3 separate regions of the Homo sapiens genome follow, and regions 2 and 3 are each linked to region 1. Evidence: promoter capture Hi-C in human tissues and cell types (Jung and others, 2019). All regions are on one chromosome and are shown on one strand. Each heading gives the region's core, a stretch centred on a gene start or on the middle of the fragment in contact. The rest is flanking DNA. Distances are from core to core; before and after follow the strand shown.

The links. Contacts are between HindIII fragments. The study calls those that stand out against the background at their distance.
Region 2: a contact is called between a fragment that was not itself captured here and the fragment with the promoter of RBM39 in region 1, in 1 of the 25 tissues and cell types used here (bladder).
Region 3: a fragment that was not itself captured here is called in contact with the fragment with the promoter of RBM39 in region 1 in 5 of the 25 tissues and cell types used here (heart right ventricle, mesenchymal stem cells, pancreas and 2 more).

The regions. Positions count from the first base shown.
Region 1 is chr20:35,740,937-35,744,512 of GRCh38, reverse strand. It overlaps RBM39 (RNA binding motif protein 39), which reads left to right and starts at 2,253. Exons shown (of 17, transcript NM_184234.3): 1 at 2,253-2,572. RefSeq lists enhancers at 1,814-1,913, 2,084-2,303, 1,665-2,350, 2,364-2,513 and a silencer at 2,774-2,873. The HindIII fragment of the contact is 31,582 bases long and covers 1-3,576 here.
Region 2 is chr20:35,907,780-35,911,401 of GRCh38, reverse strand. All of the region lies in intron 10 of PHF20 (PHD finger protein 20), which reads right to left. Among named protein-coding and RNA genes, the nearest start is that of SCAND1, 45 kb to the left of the region's middle. The HindIII fragment of the contact is 7,158 bases long and covers 1-3,622 here.
Region 3 is chr20:35,941,652-35,945,305 of GRCh38, reverse strand. The region is part of intron 17 of PHF20 (PHD finger protein 20); the gene reads right to left. Among named protein-coding and RNA genes, the nearest start is that of SCAND1, 11 kb to the left of the region's middle. The HindIII fragment of the contact is 3,743 bases long and covers 1-3,216 here.

The DNA of each region.
Region 1 (3,576 bases), core at 1,004-3,503:
CTGGGATAACAGGCCATGAGCCGCCATGCCTGGGGATATTTTCTTTTAAACATAAAAAATACTTGTTTCAGAAACTTGATTTTTCCAAACGGCTTTTCTTGATGATCTGCTAAGTTGCCATATTGCCTCTGATGGTCCTTGAGCAGAAAACTATTTAAGGGACCTTAAATCATCAAGCGACTTAGAGCTTAAATCCTTCCTCTTCCCAAACAAGAAGTCTAGCGGTTAAGGTCAAATTCTGTCATGTCATGTTCCTAAACAAACAAGAAAAACCAAGTGCCATCTTCATGCTTTCATTTTGCACTAGTCATAATACTGGAATTACCGAGGGGCAGGAAGAGATAGCAAAGGTTAGCTTGCTTTATTTCTGACATATTATGCTTCAATTTCCTGTGACAGTTTTCTTTTCTTTCTTTTTCTTTCTTTTTTTTTTGAGATGGAGTCTCGATCTCTGTCACCCAGGCTGGAGTGCAATGGCATGATCTCAGCTCACTGCAACCTCTGCCTCCCAGGTTCAAGTGATTCTCCTGCCTCAGCCTCCCGAGTAGCTGGGAATTGCAGGCGCCTGCCACCTAGTTTTTTTTTTATTTTTAGTAGAGACAGGGTTTCGCCATGTTGGTCAGGTCTTGAACTCCTGACCTCAGGCGGTCCACCCGCGTCGGCCTCCCAAAGTGCTGGGATTAGATGCATGAGCCACTGCGCCCAGCCTCCAGAGCGAGACTGTCTCAGAAATAAAATAAAAAGAGGATCTGAATTTTCAGAAAAAGGATTAAGGGAGTATTCTAACTACAAAATAACTGTTATTAATAATCCTCTAAGATAAATCCTAACCTGTGTGTAAAGTTAACCTGAGAGGCAAAACCACTTAACATCTATATTTGCTCTAAATAATTTTGTTTAGCAGAAACAGAAGTTAGCTGTTTTGAAGATCAAATATTTACCAGGCGTTTTACAGACATTATATCATTTAATCTTCACTATAGCCCTTCTGAGCCTTCATTCATTAATTTACTGAGGGTCCACTTGGGCAGACATGCCCTGCTAACCTCTAAAAATTCAGTACTGAGCATTACCTGCCTTCCTCAGTCTCAAGTAGCTTAGACTAGCTACTAAGTACGTCCTCTTTTAAATCAGGAAATGAAAGATCCCCTCTGAGAGGTTAATTTGCTTGTCCAAGGTCACACAGTGTTGCAGCAGCTAGTTACACTAATCAAGGCGTCTCATTTCCAATCTTTTCTGCCCTCAATCATTAGACTGTTAAGATTAGAGGGTAAGATTTTTGCTTTGAAGACTTCTTTCCAGTTTTTTTTCCCAGCATCTAGGAGGAAACCTCACACAGTACTGACCAAAGAACAAATGGCTAATTCATACTCTAATTACCTGGCATCTAGAAGACTTCAGGGGAGAGGAGCCAGGTCCCAGGGGGAAGGGGGCCTTTTTTTTTTTGTTGGGGGGGTGTCTTATTTTTTCACCAAATCGTCCAGTAATATTCAGGAAGGGGAACATTTTTGAAGGAACGGTAGCAACCCTGACACAAGAGCTGATTAAATTCGGGGCACAAAACTGATCCCATGCCAAGGGAAGCAAGAGTTTATTTTTTCCACCTTTTTTTTGCTTTTCTCCACTATTTCCAAGGTTGTTTCAAAGCTCGACAGTGGAGGCCGCGCCATTGGCTCCAAATGACAGGGAAATCTATTTTTATTATCTCCCCCTCTCCCCCTACCCCTAAAGATCTCTTCTTCTGGCCTTCTGATACACTTTTCCACTTCCTCTCCACCCTCAGCGGATAATCTGAATATGGCCGTTTTATCCTATCGCCATAAGGACTAGGTTGCCTTATGGCGACCTTGACAGCCATCTGTGTGGGAGGCCGGAGCGGGGGCGATCGGCTGTGCCGGAGGAATCTTCAGATGGCCGTGAGGAGGCGCCACGAGGGGGAGGTGACCGCTGAGCTCCACTCAGCGAAGAGCTCTCTGAAAGATTGACAGGCAGCCTACCAACTGTCTTTGCCCTAGAGACCCGCTCTGTCTCGCGAGATTTGGGTGCTTACGCGGAGGGGGAGTGAAAGGCGCCTCACTGAATGGGGGATGGGAATATCTGTGGCGCAATCATTGCGCGAGATTGGGCTACGGTCGCCGGAGCCATACTTAGGTCTCGCGATACTTCGGCCGCTCAAATTTGGAGCTTGGGGCAGCTTCTCGCGAGAGCCCGTGCTGAGGGCTCTGTGAGGCCCCGTGTGTTTGTGTGTGTGTATGTGTGCTGGTGAATGTGAGTACAGGGAAGCAGCGGCCGCCATTTCAGGGAGCTTGTCGACGCTGTCGCAGGGGTGGATCCTGAGCTGCCGAAGCCGCCGTCCTGCTCTCCCGCGTGGGCTTCTCTAATTCCATTGTTTTTTTTAGATTCTCTCGGGCCTAGCCGTCCTTGGAACCCGATATTCGGGCTGGGCGGTTCCGCGGCCTGGGCCTAGGGGCTTAACAGTAGCAACAGAAGCGGCGGCGGCGGCAGCAGCAGCAGCAGCAGCAGCAATCTCTTCCCGAACACGAGCACCACAGGCGCCCGAAGGCCGGAACAGGTACGGGGCGTTGCGGACCCGCGTATTATCTCAGCTTTCTCGAGGTTTGGCTCCATTTTGGGCTGAGGGGCGCTTTTGGAGGTCTTTAGCGACCGGGGTGGGGGGTGGTTTTCGAGAAATCGGCCCTGTTTCAGTGACCGCGCCCTTATTTTCCAGTCGGGTATAGTCTGGATTCTTGGGGCGGTAGGGACCCCCGAGAGGCCGCGGTAGAATGGTGACCTGTCTCCTTCGAGGCCTGGGCCGGCCGCGACCTCCCAACATGGCGCCAGTTGAACGCTGCCTTGGCTCATAACCCCTCCCAATGGAGGGAGTTTCTCTTTGCCCCTAAAATGGCAGCGCGGGTTTTTGCCCGGAAAGAGGCGCTCTCGTTCGGGTCTCCCAGTTTCTGTTTTTGGAGTTGACAGCAGAGTTTTAAATATTGGATATTGAAGTCTTCATTTTCGTGTGTTTCGTGTAAGAGGCGTTTTGGATTTACTTACGTAAGCCAAACCTGGTTAAAGTGCATGTCACTTTAGTCATTAATTGTAGGGCTTTTGGAGGTTTTTCTTAAGTTTTCGAGTGTGTCGGCTGAGAAGAAAAATTCAGTCGATTTGAAAAACGTTTACCAGGCCGGGCGCGGTGGCTCACGCCTGTAATCCCAGCAGTTTGGGAGGCAGAGGCAGGCGGATCACTTGAGGTTAGGAGTTCGAGACCAACCTCATCAACATGGTGAAACCCCGTCTCTACCAAAAATACAAAAATTAGCCGGGCGTGGTGGCAGGCGCCTGTGATCCCAGCTATTCGGGAGGTGAGGTGGTAGGATCGCTGGAACCTGGGAGGCGGAGCTTGCAGTGAGCCGAGATCGCGCTACTGCACTTCAGCCTGGGCAACTAGAGCGAAACTCCGTCTCAAAAAAAAAAAAAAAAAAAAAGAAAAATGTTTACTCACGGAATCGTCTTGTTCTTTTCCTAGGCGTTTAGAGAAAATGTTAGACGATATAGGCAACAAGAGTGAAACTTGTTTCA
Region 2 (3,622 bases), core at 293-2,792, 170 kb before region 1:
AATAATTCATGATGTATCCACACAATGGAAGACTTTTCAGCAATAAAGGTAGGAACAGCAGGCCGGGCGCAGTGGCTCATGCCGGTAATCCCAGCACTTTGGGAGGCCAAGGCGGGCGGATCACGAGGTCAGGAGATTGAGACCATCCTGGCTAACATGGTAAAACCCTGTCTCTACTAAAAATACAGAAAAAATTAGCCGGGCGTGGTAGCGGGCGCCTGTAGTCCCAGCTACTGGGGAGGCTGAGGCAGGAGAATGGCGTGAACCCAGGAGGCGGAGCTTGCAGTGAGCTGAGGTCTGGCCACTGCACTCCAGCCTGGGCGACAGTGCAAGACTCCGTCTCAAAAAATAAAAATAGAAAAAAAGGTACGAACAGCAACATAAGTGAATCTCAAAGTATGCTGGGTGAAAGGAGCCAGACAAAACAAGTGCGCACTGCAGGATTCCATTTCTACAATAGTCTGCAAAATGAAAACAAACCATCTGGGCATGCTGGCTCACTCCCAGCACTTTGGGAGGCCAAGGTAGGCAGATCAGCTGGGGTCAGGAGTTCAAGACCAGCATGACCAATACGATAAAACCCCATCTGTACTAAAAATACAAAAATTAGCTGGGTGTGGTGGCTCATGCCTGTAATCCCAGCTACTTGGGAGGCTGAGGCAGGAGAATCGCTTGAGCCCAGGAGGCAGAGGTTGTAGTGAGTTGAGATCGTGCCACTTCACTCCAGCCTGGGCAACACAGCGACTCCATCTCGGGGGGGAAGAAAAAAGAGAGAAAACACACCACAAGTAACAGTAAGCAGAATAGTGGTTGCCTGGAGCTCAGGGGGAGGGGAGAGGTGGGAAGGAGGAACTAAAAAGGGGCATGAGGAAAGTTTGGGAGGGAATGGAATATGTTTACTATCTTGATTGTGGTGATAGTTGGGTATAAACATATGTCAAATCTCACCAATTATACCATTTAAATATGTGTAGTTCATTGTACAATTAAGTCTCGATACAGCTGTAAAGAAAAACAACCAATTCAGTTGCATTTAGTACATTCACAATGTTGTACGACCACTTTGATATAGTTCTAAGAACATTTCCATCACTCCAAAGTAAAACCCTTTACCATTAAGCAGCATTTCCCCTCCCCTAAGCCCTTCCCCTCAGCCCCACCAACCTGCATCTGACTCCATGGGCTTATCTACTCTGGATATCTCATAAATATGGAACCATACAATATGTGACCTTTTGTGTCTGGTTTCTTTCATTTAGCATGATGTTTTCAAGGATATCAGGATTTTTAAAACTTTCCAAGTGATTCTGATATGGAATCAAGATATCCACAAAGCAGGTGTGAGGCAGGGTAGACAATCAGATTCCATTTTAACTAAGCACTTGTGTGCAAGGAAACCACAAATATCTCATTTAATCCTTACAACAACTTGTGTGTATATCATTCCCATTTTACAGGCCGGGAAACTGAAGCTCAGAGAGGTGAAATCACCCACCTGACATCACATAGGTATTTAAAAGCAAATTGGTCTGACTCTCCAGCACCATGTCTCCTCTGCAACCCAGGCCCCTCTCCCAAATTAGCACTTGGTAACCATCAGAAAGGAAGAGTGGGCTGTGCCTACTGGCTGGCAAGCCTGGAATCTATAGGCAGAGTTGATCTACTGGCTAGAGAACATAGGACTTAAGGGTATTTGAGCTCCTTAACTTTTAAAATACCCTGCAACTAGAAAGAAAGTCAACAAACATGAAAGCTGGAGAGAACTTAGACCAATTTGTAAAAGCACTCATTTTTAAAACCAAAAACCCAAGGCCCAAAGACAGCAGACTGGCAAAACATGGTCAGATGCCTTCTGAATTTCAAAAAAGCTATCAGTCATTTTTACTTTTCATTGATCCTGAGAACAGGGTCTTCCCCAAACATAAAAACAAAACTCATTTTTACACAGTTTGACTACCACCGTATTATTAGCCATGGTTTCAATTCATTTAGGCAACAGATACCATGCATATACTATGTTCCAGGCACATTCTAGGGAGGAGGGATATTGCAATGAACAAAGACAGATAACACCCCCTGTCCCTCACAGAGCTACATTCTATTCAGTTGGTGCAAAAGAATTGCTGTTTTTGCCACTGAAAGTCACAGCAAAAACCACAATTACTTTTGCACCAACCTAAAAAGCTGATGGGGCAGCAAACTATGAATAGGAGGGAATTTCCTCAACTGGATAAAGAACTTCTTTGCAGCCAACTTCATACTTAATGGTAAGAAATTGGATGCTTTCCCCTTAAGATCAGGAACAAAGCAAGGTGCCTCTCTCTCTACTCCTATTCAACATTTTACTGGAAATCTTAGCGAGTGGAATAAGCCAGAAAAGGAAATAAAAGCTCTACAGATTGAAATGGAAGAAATAACACTATCTTTGTTTGCAGATGATCTGTCTATGTAGAATATCCCAAAGAATTGATCAAAACAAAGACTGCCAGAACAGCACTTACAGCAAGGTTACAAGACACAAAGTTAATATACAACAATCTATTGCTTTTCTATATGCCAGCAATGAATAACTGGAATTTGAAATAAAGAAATAGCAAGGAGATCTGTATGGCTCCAATGGAACTGAAATTAGAATTAGGTTGAGTAAGGGAAAGAAGCAGATGGAGGCTAGCAGCAGAACATGATGAAGGGCCCTGTGAGGAAGTTGGCTTTTACTATGAGTGATTTAGGGAGCCACTGGAAGGATCTCAGCAAAGGAGGGATATTATCTGTTGTACCTTCACCCACACTCCTCCACAACACACACACAGACTGCTCCCTGATCCAGTTTTTATTTGTAAATTCAGGTTTTAGTGACCTCCAACTAAAGTAATTATACCCATCAGCTTAGTGAAATGCTAACAGAATTTATCTTGTCAGCAGCAGAACTGCCTGAAGCAGCAACATAATCTAGGTCCTAAATCCTTGAGACAGAGAGGGCAAGATGTAGAGGAAAACTGCCCAATGCTAGGGCATACCTGGTTATCTGGCTAAAGATAGTGGTCATTTGTAAACTCCAGTGGCAGAACTTGCAGGCCCTAGAAAAGACACAGAGAATTGCCCAGCAAGGACTGAGCTAAGGCAGGTGAGTCCCTGAGGAACAGGAGTAGACAAGGTGACAACAGGCAGAAATCCCCAGACTGCCAGGTGCACAGGAAGTCTCCTGCAGGGAGGCACTCCTATCTCCCACTCCAGGGCCTGGGACAGGCACTCTTCCCTGGAATCATAAAAGACAGCAGAGCCTCAAAGTGAGAGTATGGGCTTCACAACAGATTCAAATCATGGCTCCACCACCTGCTAGAGCTGTAAATATTGGTTCAAATTAATCCATCTCATCTGCACCTTAGTTTCTAATCTATAAATTAGGCATTATAGATGCCTAATATGCCAACATTAGAGCATCCAAATTCTTAAAACAAGTACTTCCAGACCTAAAGAAAGACTTAGTCACATAATTTTAGTGGGGGACTTCAACACCCCTCTGACACAGCATTAGAAAGATCATCGAGGCAAAAAACAAAGAAATACTGGACTTAAATCCAGCAATGACAAACTATACATTCCACCCATCTGCAAATGGCAA
Region 3 (3,654 bases), core at 96-2,595, 200 kb before region 1:
CCACGAGGGCAAAGGCTGAGTCTGCCTTGCTTGCCACTATATCCCTAACACTCACCTGTGTCTGAAATGTGGCAAGCCTGCAACAAACACAGCGAGAGAAGGAATGTGTGGTCCAGCAAAGCGCCCTACCCATTGCTCTGGGCCCTATGTAGTTTATCCTCCTCCATCATATTTCTTGTTGGTATTTGGGGGTTCCAAGAAGGAGGAACCCTCTCTCTTCCTAATTCCAGCAAGTACAAGGACTTGGAAATAAGAAAAATAAGACCACCTCCTCAGACTTAAGCTTGAAAACCATTAGTAAAAGATCAGTCATGTGAGAGGAACTAGTGGCCTGCTGAGCAAGAAAACTGGATAGTGACCAGTTTCAAAACACCAGTAAGTCTTTAAAAAAAACTAGAAGGAGACAGGGGACTGTTCAGCAAACAGGCAGAAGAATAAATGGAGAGGCCGGACGTGCACGCCTGTAATCCCAACACCTTGGGAGGTCAAGGGAGGTGGATCACCTGAGGTCAGAAATTCAAGACAAGCCTGGCCAACATGGTGAAACCCCATCTCTATTAAAAATACAAAATCAGCCAGGTGTGGTGGCAGGCATCTGCCTGCTACTTGGGAGGCTGAGGAAGGAAGAGTCGCTTAAACCTGGGAGGCAGAGGCTTCAGTAAGCCGAGATCATGCCACTGTACTCCAGCCTGGGCGAGAAAGAGCAAGACTCCGTCTTAAAAAAATAAAATAAAATAAAAATAAATAAATGGACAAAAGGCAGTCAGGACTGGATGGGTCACTCCAACAGCAAAGAGAGTCAGTCAATCTTTTGCAAGATGATCCTACAGTTGCTGAGAGGCCCCTCTTAAGGTCACCCTAACTACCTTGGATCTAGTTCCAGGCTCACCAAAGACATCCCGATACTACGGTGGCCCAGGAGGCATGCACAGTGTGAAAGCGCACCAACGCTCAGACTGGAAGAGTCTAAGCCACTCAGTAGTGCCTGAGCTTGGTTAACAGGAGTGTGTGGAGTTCCTGAGATGGAAGCTGTCTGTCTAGGTCTGTTAGGCTGAAGAACAAAGCCAGGACTGTGGGAAGTCAACAGCATCTCCTCTGGACCCCAGCATCCAGCAGGCCACCCTCTCCATACCATGTGCTGCACCATCCCAAGTGTCTCTTTTAAAGATGCAGAACAGCTTCCAACTAGCATAGTGGTTGCTAGCAAGACAGAAGGTTACAGAGGAAAAAATTCTGTTCAAATACACTAAGATCATGTGTATAGAGACCACTGCTCACCAAGGCAACATTTTTTATTTAAGAAAATAATCTCTCTAATGCCAAAAGACTTTTTTACTTTTCATGGTCATTAAATATCCTTTGTCTTTTAGTTTTAAAGTACTGTTCAGGCTGGGTGCAGTGGCTCACACCTGTAATCCCAGCACTTTGGGAGCCCGAGGCAGGCAGATCATGAGGTCAGGAGATCGAGACCAGCCTGGCCAACATAGTGAAACCCCGTCTCTATTAAAAATACAAAAATTAGCCAGGCATGGCGGTGTGCACCTATAATCCCAGCTACTCGGGAGGCTGAAGCAGGAGAATTGCTTGAAGCCAGGAGGTGGAGGTTGTGGTGAGCCGAGATCGTGCCACTGCACTCCAGCCTGGGCAACAGACCGAGACTCCGTCTCAAAAATAAATAAATAAATAAATAAATAAAGTACTATTCATATAACTACATAAATAATTAAATAATGGCCAATTGTAAAACAATGGCATATATATATATATATTTCATATAATAGCTTACTAGGCTTTTTTTTTTTTTTTTTTAAAGAAATGGGGTCTTGCTCTGTCACCCAGGCTGGAGTACAGTGACACGATCATAGCTCACTGTAACCTTGAACTCCTTGGCCTCCCAAAGCACTGGGATTACAAGTGTGAGCCACCACGCCAGGTCAGCTTTTAAATTTTTTTAAATTTTTTATTTTCAGACTGAGTCTCACTCTGTTGCCCAGTCTGGAGTGCAGTGATATGATCTCAGCTCACTGCAACCTCCGCCTCCTAGATTCTGCTGCTTCAGCCTCCCAAGTAGCTAGGATTATACGTGTGCACCACCACACCCAGCTAAGCAGGCCGGCTTTTTAAAAAAGGAATGTTACATCCAAATTCCTATTTTAAAACTTGGTTATGAAAGCTTAGTTTAGGGCTGGGTACGGTGGCTCACGTCTATAATCCCAGCACTTTGGGAGGCCAAGGTGGGCGGATCATGAGGTCAGGAGATCGAGACCATCCTGGCTAACACAGTGAAACCCTGTCTCTACTAAAAATATAAAAAATTAGCCGGGCCTGGTGGCGGGCACCTGTAGTCCCAGCTACGCGGGAGGCTGAGGCAGGAGAATGGCGTGAACCCGGGAGGCGGAGCTTGCAGTGAGCTGAGATGGCACCACTGCACTCCAGCCCGGGCAACAGAGCGAGACTCCATCTCAAAAAAAAAAGAAAGAAAGAAAGCTTAGTTTATCTTGGTGTTTAAATAAAGAGTTGATTCCATAAAAAGGGATTTTGATTAATCTTAAATACTATGCAAAAGTCTGTTTACCTAAATAAAATCTTTAAGCTTTATCATTTATTTTAATGCTTTCTTGTTATCTCTCTCAGGGCCTAGAGTCTTAGAAATGTACAGAATATGTGGCTCTGAATTAGCAAGACACACAAGAGGTCATCTGTGAGGCCAAAGAAGGGGGTTCAGGCCTACCATCCTTGCCACACTGCCCATTCGGCAGGGCTAGAGAGGCCAAACCTGGCTGAAGAGAGGATTAAGGAAGTAAGATGTGAGTAGACTTTAACTTCTCCCTCAGGGAAGGTCCCTGTGGCAACAACCGAACATTCACCCTGTTTCCATGGTGCTAATCCTCTTTTCAGGGACTACAGAGCCACTCCTACTGCCATTCTCTCAAGAGCTACACTTTTTTGTCTAACATTATATCCTCCTTCAGCTCTCTAATAATATGTTTTTCACAGACAGTGGCATCAGTTACAATCCCTTTTTTTTAGTTTATTTTTTTAGAGACAGGGTCTGTGTTACACAGGCTGGAGTACCGTGACATAATCACAGCTCACTGCAGCCTCCAACTCCTGGGCTCAAGCAGTCCTCCCGCCTCAGCCTCCCAAGTAGCTGGGACTACACCCCTACACTTGGCTAGTTTTTTATTTTTTTGTAGAGACTGTGATGCCCAGGCTGGCCTCAAGCAATCCTCCCACCTTGACCTCCCAAAGTACTGGGATTATAGGTGTGAGCCACCACACCCAGCCTAGGTCTTGCTGTCTCTCTCACTGTCCTCCAACAGGGCAACTCTTTTTCCAGTCTAGCCAGATCATCCACCCTGAGTCCTCTCCAGTAGGAAACACCATCACTCTCCTTAAAGCTCAACTTCAGTCTCAGGAGTTTTAGGAAGCCCTCCTATTAGCACTCTCCTCCTCTGCATTGACATCAGCCACATGTGTCCCGGCCACACCTCATGGCATCACTTGTATAACAGATGGCATTTTCTCCTGAGTTATTTCATGTATGTTTTATATTCCCAGTTACAGTAAAAAATCATAGCCAGACTGTACCCAGAATCCTCAAACAACATTTCTTTTTTAACTGGGCTCCATTTTCAACATGAAAACAAATAA